Linked DNA regions of Homo sapiens: regions 2, 3, 4 and 5 are each linked to region 1. The links are contacts of gene promoters, found by promoter capture Hi-C in human tissues and cell types (Jung and others, 2019). All regions are on one chromosome and are shown on one strand. Each heading gives the region's core, a stretch centred on a gene start or on the middle of the fragment in contact. The rest is flanking DNA. Distances are from core to core; before and after follow the strand shown. Region 1 holds the start of EIF3B (eukaryotic translation initiation factor 3 subunit B). Region 2 holds the start of MICALL2 (MICAL like 2). Region 3 has its middle 41 kb from the start of PSMG3-AS1. Region 4 has its middle 41 kb from the start of ELFN1. Region 5 has its middle 38 kb from the start of ELFN1-AS1.

The links. Contacts are between HindIII fragments. The study calls those that stand out against the background at their distance.
Region 2: the fragment with the promoter of MICALL2 here is called in contact with the fragment with the promoter of EIF3B in region 1 in 1 of the 25 tissues and cell types used here (lymphoblastoid cells).
Region 3: a contact is called between a fragment that was not itself captured here and the fragment with the promoter of EIF3B in region 1, in 3 of the 25 tissues and cell types used here (lymphoblastoid cells, mesenchymal stem cells and spleen).
Region 4: a contact is called between a fragment that was not itself captured here and the fragment with the promoter of EIF3B in region 1, in 2 of the 25 tissues and cell types used here (heart right ventricle and lymphoblastoid cells).
Region 5: a fragment that was not itself captured here is called in contact with the fragment with the promoter of EIF3B in region 1 in 1 of the 25 tissues and cell types used here (dorsolateral prefrontal cortex).

What each region holds. Positions count from the first base shown.
Region 1 is chr7:2,353,514-2,356,215 of GRCh38, forward strand. EIF3B (eukaryotic translation initiation factor 3 subunit B) reads left to right here and starts at 1,314. Exons shown (of 19, transcript NM_001037283.2): 1 at 1,314-1,907. The coding sequence starts at 1,409. It also overlaps a transcript of SNX8 not described here. RefSeq lists enhancers at 105-660, 331-400 and silencers at 1,201-1,340, 1,521-1,610, 1,661-1,770. The HindIII fragment of the contact is 17,363 bases long and covers 1-2,702 here.
Region 2 is chr7:1,458,133-1,460,834 of GRCh38, forward strand. It overlaps MICALL2 (MICAL like 2), which reads right to left and starts at 1,338. Exons shown (of 17, transcript NM_182924.4): 1 at 1,052-1,338. The coding sequence starts at 1,194. MICALL2-DT (MICALL2 divergent transcript) reads left to right here and starts at 1,787. Exons shown (of 2, transcript XR_001745046.2): 1 at 1,787-2,135. RefSeq lists enhancers at 1-14, 15-737, 2,161-2,702 and a silencer at 1,111-1,830. The HindIII fragment of the contact is 47,250 bases long and covers 1-2,702 here.
Region 3 is chr7:1,609,551-1,612,252 of GRCh38, forward strand. No RefSeq gene overlaps it. Among named protein-coding and RNA genes, the nearest start is that of PSMG3-AS1, 41 kb to the left of the region's middle. RefSeq lists an enhancer at 1-65. The HindIII fragment of the contact is 8,361 bases long and covers 1-2,702 here.
Region 4 is chr7:1,627,896-1,630,597 of GRCh38, forward strand. No RefSeq gene overlaps it. Among named protein-coding and RNA genes, the nearest start is that of ELFN1, 41 kb to the right of the region's middle. The HindIII fragment of the contact is 6,415 bases long and covers 1-2,702 here.
Region 5 is chr7:1,779,341-1,782,042 of GRCh38, forward strand. No RefSeq gene overlaps it. Among named protein-coding and RNA genes, the nearest start is that of ELFN1-AS1, 38 kb to the left of the region's middle. The HindIII fragment of the contact is 9,526 bases long and covers 1-2,702 here.

The DNA.
Region 1 (2,702 bases), core at 64-2,563:
TCAAGTGATCCTCCTGTCTTGGCCTCCCAAAGTACTGGGAAGAGAGGTGTGAGCCACCGCGCAGGGCCTAGCCATTTTAATATGAAGTTTAGTATACAGTTCAGTGGCATCAAGTACATTCACCATGTTGTACCATCACCACCGTCATCTCCAAAACGTTCTCATCCTCCCAAATTGAAGGTCCGTCCCCGATAAACACTCCCCACTCTCCACCCCAGCCTCTGGGTACCACCTGTTTTATTTATTTATTTAATTTTCGTAGAGATGAGGGCTGGCGTGCGGGGGGTGGTGGTGCTATGTTGGCAAGGCTGGTCTCCAACTCCTAAGCTCAAGCGATCTTCCCACCTCAGCCTCCCAAAGTGCTGGGATAACAGGCGTGATCCACTGGGTTGTTTTCTAGGATGATTAAGACATCCCCCAACCAGTGGTTGTCCTCCACTCCGGCAAAAAACAAGATAGAAGCCACATGCACCCAATGCCCGTCCCGTGAGCACCCGCGCAGAGCGAACCGCTCCGGTCCCTCCGGAGTCAGCCTCGAGCTCCACGCGGCGAGGACCCGCCCCCGCCCCCACGTGACCCGCGCTGTCCCGCGCTGAAGGCGGCGGCCTCGGATGGACTGAACCACTGTGAAAGCCCGAATGGGGGGAAACAGGCAGTGACGGCCGCTAGGGAAGGACTGGGGGTAAGCGATTAAAGAAACTTCCATACATTTTTGTATCGCGCCAGGCAGTCGTCCTTCTAGTCGTGTGGGCCCTCTCTGGCTCGCCCCGAATTCCTTTTCTATTTTGAAGTAGTCTGTCCTTTTGCTCAGTCAGTAGGCGAGTCCAAGTGACAGACACGGACAGGGGGGACTTTAGTAACGTAAACTAAACGGTTTCCCTAGCGAAAGGCTCAGACGCCCTGAGCAATCGCCTGTTGAGTCTCCACTCTTCCAGGGTATTAACTGTTGAGTTAGAGGACATTTTCCTAGCATTCCGGGTACTAAAATCATTTCTTGTCCCCGCCTTCAGCTCCACAAATAGTTCAGTCCCGCCCCGCAGCGTCCGACGGGAAAGGAAAGGGGGAGGACGCCATGTTGGACGGAACCATCTGCTGCCACACATGGGGTGGTCAATGCTCCCATGAGTTTACTGATGCACAGAAACAACCTTGCTGAATGGAATTAAGCACTTTCTTGTCACAAATATATCAGTTTGATGATTTTCGGGCGCGGTCTTGTGGATGCGAGTCCTCTCAGGGTCGTTCGTGAGGCCCCAGGGCGTGGGTGCGCCCCCCGCCCCGCGGCCTTGGTGCGGCCTCCCCGTCGCACGCACATGGCTGGGCTGTAGCCGTCGCGGCGCGCGGTGCGGCCTGGGAGAGTCGGAAGCGCGGCGGCCGCGGAGCCCTGCGAGTAGGCAGCGTTGGGCCCATGCAGGACGCGGAGAACGTGGCGGTGCCCGAGGCGGCCGAGGAGCGCGCCGAGCCCGGCCAGCAGCAGCCGGCCGCCGAGCCGCCGCCAGCCGAGGGGCTGCTGCGGCCCGCGGGGCCCGGCGCTCCGGAGGCCGCGGGGACCGAGGCCTCCAGTGAGGAGGTGGGGATCGCGGAGGCCGGGCCGGAGTCCGAGGTGAGGACCGAGCCGGCGGCCGAGGCAGAGGCGGCCTCCGGCCCGTCCGAGTCGCCCTCGCCGCCGGCCGCCGAGGAGCTGCCCGGGTCGCATGCTGAGCCCCCTGTCCCGGCACAGGGCGAGGCCCCAGGAGAGCAGGCTCGGGACGAGCGCTCCGACAGCCGGGCCCAGGCGGTGTCCGAGGACGCGGGAGGAAACGAGGGCAGAGCGGCCGAGGCCGAACCCCGGGCGCTGGAGAACGGCGACGCGGACGAGCCCTCCTTCAGCGACCCCGAGGACTTCGTGGACGACGTGAGCGAGGAAGGTGAGGGCGCCCGGGGCGGGGCTGGCGAGCGGCGCGGGAGCGTGGCTGGGGTTCCCGAGGTGGGAGATATCGTCGGGCTGTGCCACCGGTTCGTGCAGAAGTTCCAGCGAGGGTGTCCGTGTGTTCCTGAGAAGCCACCGAGGGAGGGGTTCCCGAGTGCCCTGGAAGTGTTCTGAGAGCCCAGCGCCTCCCCTTTTCTTTCCTGAAAAAGGGGACAGGGTGGAGCTCACTTCGGGAGCCAGGCATTTGCATGACAACCAGAAATCTGAGAGGGTGGGAGAGGGCACATGGGGTACTCCGTTATGGCTGGGTGTGCTGTGAGTGTAGCAGCTGGGGGTACGGCAAAAACCGAAGACCCGGTGGCAGGTTTGCGGGTCTACGTGTCCCCAGAGCTGACCAGTCAGACCTCCCAAGGTCTGGATCGGAGGAACAGCTTGTGGCAGAGCCGGTGATTTTGTCCTCCTGCCCCTCAGAATTGTCCATCTCCAGAGACTTCCTTAGTGGGACAGGCACCCTGTGAAATTCCAGTTTGATTTTTCTTTATCTCTTGCGCTAAATCTATAAAGAGAGTTATTTTTCCAGGTTTTAATATTGCCGATAACAGCCAGCTTTGCCTTCATCTCAACCTTGATTGGATTTACAGGCATATTTTTGCTTCCTGTCTCAGAGATTTTTTCCTGAAGCTACTTCTGATGAGAGCTGGTCTCATTTGTTTTTCTTTTGTTTTTTAGCTCTCTTAAGCCTTTAAGTTGGGAACACATCAGCCTCTGCAGATTGGCTAAGTTGATACTAGAG
Region 2 (2,702 bases), core at 88-2,587, 900 kb before region 1:
GCTTCCTGCAGAGAGTGGGACTGGCAGGACAGTGTCCAGGGGCACAGGGGAGGAGCCCCGGATCTGCGCAACGGGCTGGGGCTGTGTGACCTGAGCAAGGACCCCTCCTCTTAGCCTCGGTTCTCTGGTCTGCACAGCTGCGGCCTGACAGAGGCCCCAGGTGCTGCCTGTGGCTCCTCCCAACCCCGAGACCTTCCCACCAAAAACACACTCAGGAGAACGCTTTGCCCAGAAGGTGCCTGGGCTGCAGGTGGCCGTTGAGGGCCCCCCTTCCTGAGCGTCTGGCCCCCAGCCCCGACACACAGATCTCTGTCCCAGCAAGCCTGGTCCCAGTCATTTAGCCAAAGAGCGTTTGCTGAGTGAATAAACAATGGAGCAGGTCCAGGCTCGGGCCAAGATTCAGCAACGGGCAGGGCCAGCTGCCCAGCTACACACGCCAAGACCCTCCTGGGGAGAGACAGCCTAGTCCTCAACCCCTGCCACCTCCTGCTGCTCCCAGAGATGGGGGCTGTTCTCCATCTCGGGCCCTATCACCCGGGGCCTCAGAGGCCCGGCTGGCAGCAGCACCTGGGGTCTGGGGGCTTCCTGCCCTGCACTGGCCGCTCCCCCACAGTGGCCCTGGCCACATCCCCCCAGGGGCCTGAACAGGCTGGGGGAGGGTCAGTGCCCATACGAGGGCTATCCAGGGACCCCATCTGGTGGCCAGGCCCCTGGGCAGTGAGAGCCTCGGAGGGCCCAAAGAGGCAGCTCTGCTGGCCTTTCCCAGGGACACAGAGGGGGACTGGACTGAAGCCAGGGCCCAGGAGCCGCCCTGAGTCACGTCTGACTCAGCCGGCGGGCGGGGGATGCCATGGCTCTGGCCCAGCTGCATTCGGTGTCCGGGCACACTGAGGCCACTGAGGACAGCCTCGGGGGGCTGCACGGTGGGCTGTGCCTGCCCAGTCCCACGCCTCGGCTCCCCATCCCCCAGCCGCCCGGGCCTCAGTTTCCCCGCCCGTGTCAGCGCGCAGCCGAACAGCAGAAGAATCAAAGGGCGCCAGGCAGGACTTACATGAGGTCGGGCCGGTGGCGGTGCAGGATGGCGCAGAAAGCCAGGCCGTCGCGGAACGACGTGGTCATGTTGCAGATATTCACGTCGCGGTAGCCCTCGCACTGCTGCCGGCACCACTGTTGCAGCGCCCTGATGGCCGCCATGTGGGCGGCGCGCCCGCCGCGCGGCGGAACCGCCCTCCGACACCTTCCCGCGGCTGTGCCGCGACCGCCCGGCCGGCGGGACAGACGCTGGGACCGCTACGGAACCGCCAGACCCACGGCGCCCAGCCCCAGCTGAGCCGGACTGAGGGCGACGAGTGCCGGGTCCCTAAGAGAAGCCGAGCCCGGCCCCGCCCCCGCCGGCCCCGCCTCCTTGTAGGCCCCGCCCCCAGCCGCCAAGTCCTGCCTCCGGATAGGCCCCGTCCTCACACCTCCCAGCCCCGGCATAGGCTCCCGCCCAGGCAGGCCCCACCTCCCGACAGGCCCCGCCCCCAGCCGCCGGGTCCTGCCTCCTGATAGGCCCCGTTCCCACGCCTCCTGGCCCCGGCACAGGCTCCCGCTCCAGGCAGGCCCCGACTCCGGACAGGCCCCGCCCCCAGCCTCCAGGTTTTGCCTCCCGAGAGGCCCCGCCCCACGCCGCCCGGCCCCAGTACGGGCTCGCGCCCTAGGCACGTCCCGCCTCCTGGTAAGTCCCGCCCCCACGCTGTCAGGTCCCGCCCGACAGGCCCCGCCCCACGCCGCCTGGCCCCTCCCCAGGCCCCGCCCCGCCGCTGAGGGCCGAGACCCCCAACCGGTGAAGGGGCGCGGTCTGCTTGGGGGTCCTGCCATTCTGGACCCCTGCGGAGACCTGGAATTTTCTTTTTCGCCGCCCCACCTCCCACCACCATCTCACCCCACCGCCATGGAGAAGAGGCAGGAAAGGCCGTTGACAAACGGGGACACTGAGGCTCGAACACCCTGCCCTGTCTAGGGCCTCAGCCCTCGGCAGCCCGGCCTCCCGGGGAGCAGGAGGCGCCTTGTGTTTCAGGGTTTCAAAGGACGTCCGCATCTGGTTTCTCTTTCCAGGCCGCTACATGCCAGCGGGGGTTCCAGGCAAGGCAGAGGTGAGGCCTGGGCATTGCCAGAGGAGAAACTGAGGCCAGGAAGGGGGCCGTGGAGCCGGAGTTGCACAGCTGGCCTGTGCTTTTCTTCTGGGGGCCTGTGGGCAGGATCTGTTCCTGGGGCAGGAGATTCCTCAGGCTGACTTGCAGGGTAGTTCCAATTTTCCACTTTGAGCTGTGACAGAAGAAATAAGGAAAGTCCCTCTGCTGGGGCCCTAAATTATCCCAGACTGGCCCCTGGCCCCGTTATCCTTGGGGAACCTTGTCTGTGGCCACGGGGGCTGGACGAGGGCGGAATCACTGACACCAGCCATGTGAGGGGGGCCTACCCTCCTGGCTGTGGGGCCAGGGCTTGTCTGGGCAGGGCCTGCAGGAAGGAAGGTGTTTTCCCGCAGTAGCCCCTGGCAGGGAGTCAGGGCAGCTTCTCTGTGCCCCTTGGGAGGAGGAGAAACTGAGGTCTTCCAACCCCAGCCAATGGTGCTGTTCCAGATCTTTTCTGAGGCTGGTCCCTGGTGAGACACCGTAGTGTTCATGGCCAGCTGCCTAAGTGTCAGTGAGGCCTGTGTGTAG
Region 3 (2,702 bases), core at 74-2,573, 740 kb before region 1:
ATACAAAACTTAGCCGGGTGTGGTGGCGTGCACCTGTAATCCCAGCTATTCTGGAGGTTGAGGCAGGAGAACTGCTTGAGGTTTCAGTGAGCTGAGATTGTGCCACTGCACTCCAGGCAGGGCAACACAGAGAGACTCCATCTCAAAACAAAAAAAATAAAAGGAAAGAAAGAAAGAAAAAAAAGAAATGATTTCCAGGGTTCTGCTTTGATCAGCTGGTTAGGCAGTTGGTGTCATTCGCTGTGGTAGGAGACTGAGTAAGGGGAGCGGTTCCTGCAGGGCGTCTGGAGGTGCTGGCCTCCAAAGAGAGACATTTAGGGACCATCCATGGGGGTGGTTATTCGAGGTAAGGTCACAGGTGAGCTCCCCTAGGGAGGGGGAGTGAGTGAGAGGGCAAGAGAGCCTCAAAGTGAACCTCTAGGAGCCCCACAGTTGCGGGCTGGCTCAATCGGGGCTGAGAGAGAAGTCAAGGAGGCAGGAGGAGAAGCGGGGGGCTGGGGAGCTCCGGGAAGAGAGCTTCAAGGGGGAGAAGGTGGGCACCTGTGTCTCAGGTGCCACAGCGCAGCAGGCTTGGCTGGACCTTGGCTGAGTCTGCAGCCTGGCACTGTCTGCCTTCCCCGGCTCCCAGCATGACTTGCAGCTCCTCTTCCCACCACGCCGGCCTGGCACTGGGTCTCCCTTGTGGACCCCACGCACTGGGCTGTCACTGGACTCAGGTTGCCCTGGCTGGTCGTACAGAGCTTGCTGTGCCCAGCCTGGACACCCCCGGAGGTGGCGAGCAGCGGGCATCAGACCTCTCCCGCACCCTTTCGTCTTCCCATGAGTCTGACCACACAGTGCGGGCTGCCCACTCGTGAGCCCCCGGGGGAAGGGCTAACGTTATCTGCATTTTGCACGTGGGGAAAATGAGGCTGAGAAAGGGGTCAGGAGCTGAGGATGGAAAGAGCTAAGATGGGTCTCCAGGAAAGCAGGTTCCCATGCACCGGTCAGCACCCCCCTCCTGCTTCCTGCACCATTCATGAGACCCCTCCATAGGGCTGAGGCCCACCCAGCGAGGGAAACGCCGATGATGAGGGAGGGAGGGACCTCTCAGCGCCCAAGAATGTGACCAGCCTCCCAGGGCGGGGTATCTGCATGGGGACAGGCCTGGGGCCCCCCTGCAGGCCAGACAGAAGGAGCCACTGAGGGCCCAGCTGGCAGACCGCAGCCTGGGGGGTGGGGGCAGCGGGGCGGCGGGGGCAATGGCTCTGAGGGTGGGCGAGGACCAAGTGCCGCCAAGGAGCGATAATGATGGCTTGAGTCAAAGCCGCCCCGCGTCTCGCCCGCGCTGGCATCTCCAGCAGCACCGTGCCAATTAAAGATGAGTTGAGCATATCATTAGTTTCCCAATCGTCAAGAATCTCATTAGGGGAGTCTTAGATCCACCTGAGCAGCTCTGCCGATTGTCCACACTGGAGCTGCCGAGCTGGGGGCAGGGGGAGTTGCTGCGTGTTGATGAGTCGTAGCGGGGTTTTGCCAGGCAGGGCGCTGGATTGAACCGGCCCAGCAGTGCCCAGGGCCTAGGTCTCCTGGCTGACTGGTCAGTGGTCCTCAGCCTGTGTCTCCCTCCTCCAGTGGGGTGATGGGCTAGACTGGTCAGAAATCTACTGGGCGTCAGTTCGGATGCCACATTTCGACCAGACTTGGCTCAGGGGCCATCTCGTCTACCCCATCATTTTATAATGGGAGAAACAGAGGCCCACAGAGGTGGGGGAGCCCCTGGGATACACAGGGGCTGGAAGAGACCCATAGAGCTTGGTCTAATCCAACCCTAAAGCAGATCAGACTCCCATCTCTGTTGTCTCAGCTGAGTGACCATTTCACTTGTGCCTTTTTTTTATTTTGAGACCGAGTCTTGCTCTATTGCCAGGCTGGAGAGCAGTGGTGTGATCTCGGCTCACTGCAACCTCCGCCTCCTGGGTTCAAGCGATTCTCCTGCCTCAGCCTCCCGAGTATCCCAAGTAGCTGGGATTATTGGCATCCGCCACCATGCCTGGCTAATTTTTGTATTTTTAGCAGAGGTGGGGTTTTGCCATGTTGGCCAGGCTGGTCTTGAACTCCTGACCTCAAGCGATCCGCCTACCTCGGCCTCCCAAAGTGCTGGGATTACAGGCGTGAGCCACAATGCCCAGCTGCACCTCGTTTATAACAAAGAGGCCCCACCCTTCCCTTGGCCTCTTGTTCCATCTGTGCCCATCAGGGTCCTTTACTAATGAGTCACAGAGACCTGGCTCAAATTTGCTGAGGCAAGAAAGGAATTTCCTAGAAGTCAGGACTCTGTGGTTTTGCAACAGAAGGAAGGCTCAGAGATCCCAGGACGTCTCCAGCCTCATCCCTGCTGCTCTCAGCACATCTACCTCTGGCCGGGCAGCCTCTTCCTCCTGGGGGGTGGGGATGGGGTTACTGGGGGACAGAGAGCTCCAGAGCCACATGCCATGCCATCTGCCACCGGGCGGGATCTGCGCGTCTTTCTTTAGCCTCAGCTGGGAAAACCCCACGGAAGGACTGTGCATGGCCTGGCTTGGTCAGTTGCTCACCCTGAGTCCATACGGCAGCTTCCATTAGAACTGCCTGGCTGGGGTTTATTCATTCATCTCACGTTCACTAAGACTGGGCTGTGTGTCAGACATTGTTCTGTATCTATCTGGGAGAGGCAGACCATA
Region 4 (2,702 bases), core at 92-2,591, 730 kb before region 1:
TAGGACTACAGGTGCTCACCACCATGCCTGGATAATTTTTGTATTTTTAGTAGAAATGGGGTTTCACCATATTGGCCAGGCTGGTCTCAAACTCCTGACCTTGTGATCTGCCCTCATTGGCCTCCCAAAGTGTTGAGATTATAAGCGTGAGCCACCGCCCCCGGCCTCTTTGCTCATTTTTAAGTTGAGTGGTTTGTCTTTTTGTTCTTGAGTTAAAAGAGTTTTTTATATTATACTATACTATATAGTTCTTTATACAATATTTTGGAGAGTAGACCTCTTATCAGATATATGACCTATATGATTTGCAAATATTTTCTTCTATAAATGTTTGTGTGAGGCAGGGGTCCAGCTTCATTCTTTAAAATGTGGCTCTCCAGCTGTCCCAGCGTCATTTGTTGAAAAGACAATTCTTTCACCATTGAATGGCCTTGGCATCCTTGTAAAAAACCAGTTGTTCATAGATGTATGAATTTACTTATGGATTCTTACTGATCAATACGTTTTTCCTTTTTTTTTTTTTTTTGAGATGGAGTCTTGCTCTATTGCCCAGGCTGGAGTGCAGTGGTGTGATCTTGGCTCACTGAAATCTCTGCCTCCTGGGTTCAAGCGATTCTCCTGCCTCATCCTCCCAAGTAGCGGGGACTACAGGCACCCACCACCACACCCAGCTAATTTTTGTAGTTTAATTTTAATTTTTTTTGAGATACAAGTCTAGATCTGTTGCCCAGGCTGGAGTGCAGTGGTGTGATCTTGGCTCACTGCAACCTCTGCCTCCTGGGTTCAAGCGATTCTCCTGCCTCAGCCTCCCAAGTAGCTGGGACTACAGGCATGTGCTACCACGCCTGGCTAATTTTTGTATTTTTAGTAGAGAAGAAAGAAACTTTCAAACTATTTTCCAAAGTGGTTGTACAATTTTGTATTTCCATTAGCAGCGTCTAAAGAGTCCCGGTTCCTCCAATCTTTACCAGTACTTAATATGGTCAGTCTTTTTAACTTTAGGCATTCTAATAGGTGTTCAGAGCTATCTTATGGTTTTAATTTGAATTTTCCTAACGACTAATGACATTGTATATCTTTTCAGGTGCTTACTTGCCATCTATGTGTCTTTTTGGTGAAGTATCTGTTCAAATCTTTGGCCCATTTTAAAATTCAGTTGTTTGTTTTCAGATCTATGGTTTGCAAATATTTTCTCACAGCCTGTGAGCTGTCCCTTCATTCTCCTTACAGTGAGTTTTAAAGAGCAGAAGGGGCTTGGCGTGGTGGCTCATGCCTGTAATCCTAGCACTTTGGGAGGCTGAGGTGGGCAGATCACTTGAGGTCAGGAGTTTGAGACCAGCTTGGCCAACATAGTGAAACCCCATCTCTACCAAAAAAATTAGCTGGGCACGTTGGCAGGCATCTGTAGTCCCAGCTACTCAGGAGGCTAAGGTGGGAGAATCGCTTGAACCCAGGAGGTGGAGGTTGCAGTGAGTGGAGATTGTGCCACTGCCCCCAGCCTCGGCAATAGAGTGAGGCTCTGTCTCAAAAAAATAAAATAAAATAAAGAGCAGAAGGTCTTTAATTTTGATGATGTCCAGTTTATTAAGTTTTATTTGGATCACACTTGATGCCATGTCTAAAAAATCTTTACCTGTAAGAAAAGAGCGCAGAGATGCTCTTCTATGTTTTCTTATGGAAGCTTTATAATTCTAGGTTTCACATTTAGGTCTATGATCCATTTTGAGTTTACTTTTGTATATAGTGTGAACTATGGACCAAAACTCCTTTTTTGCGTGAACAGATATCCAAACGTTGCAACCCATTTGATGAGAAGCCTCTCTTTTCTCCACTAAGTTGCCTTTGCATCTGTGTCAAAATTAGTTGTCCATGTATATGGGCATCTATTTCGAGACTCTTATTCTGTTTTATTGATCTATTTGTCTGTATTTATAGCAATGCCACACTGTTTTGATCACAATAGTTTTGTCATATGTCTTGAAATCAGGGAGTGCCAGTGCTCCAACATCACTCTTTTCAATGTTGTTTTGGGTCTTCTAGGTCCTTTGCATTCCATATGAATTTCACACTTGGCTTGTCAATTTCTGGAACACAAATAAGAAAAACTGGCTGGGGATGGTGGCTTATGCCTGTAATCCTAGCACTTTGAGGGGCTGAGGTGGTTGGATCACCTGAGATCAGGAGTTGAAGATCAGCCTGGCCAACATGGTGAAACCCCGTTTCTACTAAAAATACAAAAAATTAGCTGGGTATGGTGGCATGCACCTGTAATCCCAGTTACTTTGGGAGGCTGAGGCAGGAGAATTGCTTGAAACCAGTAGGTGGAGGTTGCAGTGAGTCGATATCGCGCCACTGCACTCCAGCCTGGGCGACAGAGCCAGACTCCATCTGAAAGAAAAAAAGAATAGAAAAACCTGTCCCAGGCTTGCACTCAGCCCCTGACAGCTGGCAGGTGTCATGGTTTATATTATTTTCTCTGCAGCAGGGTGGTCTTCCCAGGAGCTTGCCTGCTTCTCCCTGGCATGGCTCCTCTGCCAGCCTGTCTGTCCACTCCCATCTGTCTCCCTACACAGAGACACACGGCCTTTCCCATTACTCACGGAGTTTCTTGGGGCTGGAAATCATCACGTTTTCTCTGCAGTACACAAAGAGCCCAGCAGTGTTGGGTACATGGAAGGTTTTTCCTAAGGTTTTGATAATAT
Region 5 (2,702 bases), core at 143-2,642, 570 kb before region 1:
AAAAATAAAAAAAAATTAGCCAGGTGTGGTGGCATGCACCTGTAGTCCCAGCTACTTGGGAGGCTGAGGTGGGAGGATCACTTGAGCCCAGGAGTTCAAGGCTGCAGTGAGCTATGATTGTGTCACTGCACTCCAGCCTGGGCAACAGAGTGAGACACTGTTTTTTAGAAAAGCATTATGACCAAATGTATACACAGTCGTGCGCCGCGTAGAAACATTTTGGTCAGTGACTAACTGCACATCCGACAGGGGTCTCATGAGAGATTGTAGTGGATCTGAAGATTCCCTGTCGCCTGGTGCTGTGGTGGCCATCGTCACGTCACCGTGCAGTACGTTACTCGTGTGTGTATGTGTGTGTACGCACCCGTGATGCTGGGGTAAACAAGCCCTCTGCACCACCAGTCATAGGAAAGTCTAGCACATACAATTACGTCCAGTGCACAGTACTTGCAAATGATGATAAACCACTGTGTCACTAGTTCATGTATATACTATCCTATACTTTTTTTTTTTTTTTTTTTTTTGAGATGGAGTCTCACTCTGTCGCCCAGGCTGGAGTGCAGTGGCGCGATCTCGGCTCACTGCAAGCTCTGCCTCCCGGGTTCACGCTATTCTCCCGCCTCAGCCTCCCGAGTAGCTGAGACTACAGGCGCCTGCCACCGCGCCCTGCTAATCTTTTGTGTTTTTAGTAGAGATGGGGTTTCACTGTGTTAGCCAGGATGGTATCGATCTCCTGACCTCATGATCCGCCCGCCTCGGCCTCCCAAAGTGCTGGGATTACAAGCGTGAGCCGCCACACCCGGCCAACTTTTTTATCATGATCTTAGAGTATACTACTACTGATTAAAAACAAAAACAAAGTAACTATAAAGCAGCCTCAGGCAGGTCCTTCAGGAGGGATTGCTGAAGCCCTCCATTGGGACAGGATATGGAGGGGAAGTCAGTGATATTGGCGATCCTGACCCCGTGTAGGCCTAGGCTAATACTGGGCTAATATGTGTGTTTCTGTTTGTAACAAAAAATTTTTTAAGTAGAAAAAAGGGTACAGTGGGTCATGCCTGTAATCCCAGCACTTTGGGAGGCCGAGGCAGGAGGATAACCTGAGGTCAGGAGTTCAAGACCAGCCTGGACAACATGGTGAAACCCCGTCTCTACTAAAAATACAAAAATTAGCCAGGCATAGTGGCATGTGCCTGTAATCCTAGCTTCCCAGGAGGCTGAGGCAGGAGAATTGCTTGAACCTGGGAGGCGGAGGTTGCAGTGAGCTGAGATCGTGCCACTGCACTCCAGCCTGGATGACACAGCGAGACTCCATCAAAAAAAAAAAAAAAAAAAAAAGGTAGAAAAAAGTTTCAAAAATACTAGGTTGGTGCAAAAGTAATTGCAGTTTTTGCCATTAAAAGTAATGGGATTAAAAAGTAATGGTATTATTTTTGCACCAACCTTAATAGAAAAAAACTTACTTACAAAATAAAGAAAGAAAATATTTTTGTACAGCTGTACAACGTGTTTGTGTTTTAAGCTAAGTATTACCAAAAAGTAAAAATTTTTTTAAAGTTTACAAAGTAACAGTAAGCTAAGGTTACTTTATTATTGAAGAAAAAATATTTTTAATAAACAGAGTATAGCTTAAGTATACAGTGTTTATAAAGTCTTCAGTAGGCCAGGAAGGGTGGCTCACACCTATAATCCCAGCATTTTGGGAGGCCGAGGCAGTTGGATCACAAGAAGTCAGGAGTTCGAGACCAGCTTGGCCAACATGGCAAAACCCCATCTCTACTAAAAATACAAAAATTAGCAGGGTTTGATGGTGCACGCCTGTAGTCCCAGCTACTCAGGAGGCTGAGGCAGAAGAATCGCTTGAACCTGGGAAATAGAGGTTGCAGTGAGCCGAGATGGTGCCACTACACTCCAGCCTAGGCGACAGAGCGAGACCCTGTCTCAAAAAAATAGTCTCCAGTGGTGCACAGTAACGTCCCAGGCCTTCACACTCACTCACCCTCTCTCACCGACTCACCCAGAGCAACTTCCACTCCCGCAAGCTCCGTTCGTGCTAAGTGCCATATCAGGTACGCCACTTTAAAGTCACTGATCCTGTGTTTTCACGGCACCTTCTCTGTGTTTAGATGTGTTGAGACATACAGACATACAGTATTGTGCTGCAGTTGCCTGCAGCGTTCAGTGCTGTCACCTGCTGTGCACATTTGGAGCCCTGGAGCCCAGGAGCCACAGGCCACACCGTACAGCCTGGCCATGGGGTAGGCTCTGCCATCTTAGAGTACACTACTGGATCTGTGGAAGGTCACTTACACGTGACGAAATCGTCCAACAACATGCGTGCAGACAAACAGATATGGTGCTATAACATTATAGCAATATGCATATAATATTCTACGCATGTCTCAGAATGTATCCCCAGGGTTGAGCATTGCTTGACGGTACATATAACACTATTGAGGTAGGAGGTGGGAGTCAACTCCAGACCTGATTGAAGACTAGCTAAAACACAGAAGAGGCACTGAAAGCTCTTCTCCCTAAGACAGGCCCACCAGCGCCGCAACAGTTTAGCATTGCCATGGCAACACCCGAAAGTTACCACCCCTTTTCATGGCAGTGACCTGGAAGTTATCATCCCTTTTCTAGAAATTTCTAAATAACTTGCCCTTTAACTTACGTATATTTGAAAGTGAAGTTTGGGCGTA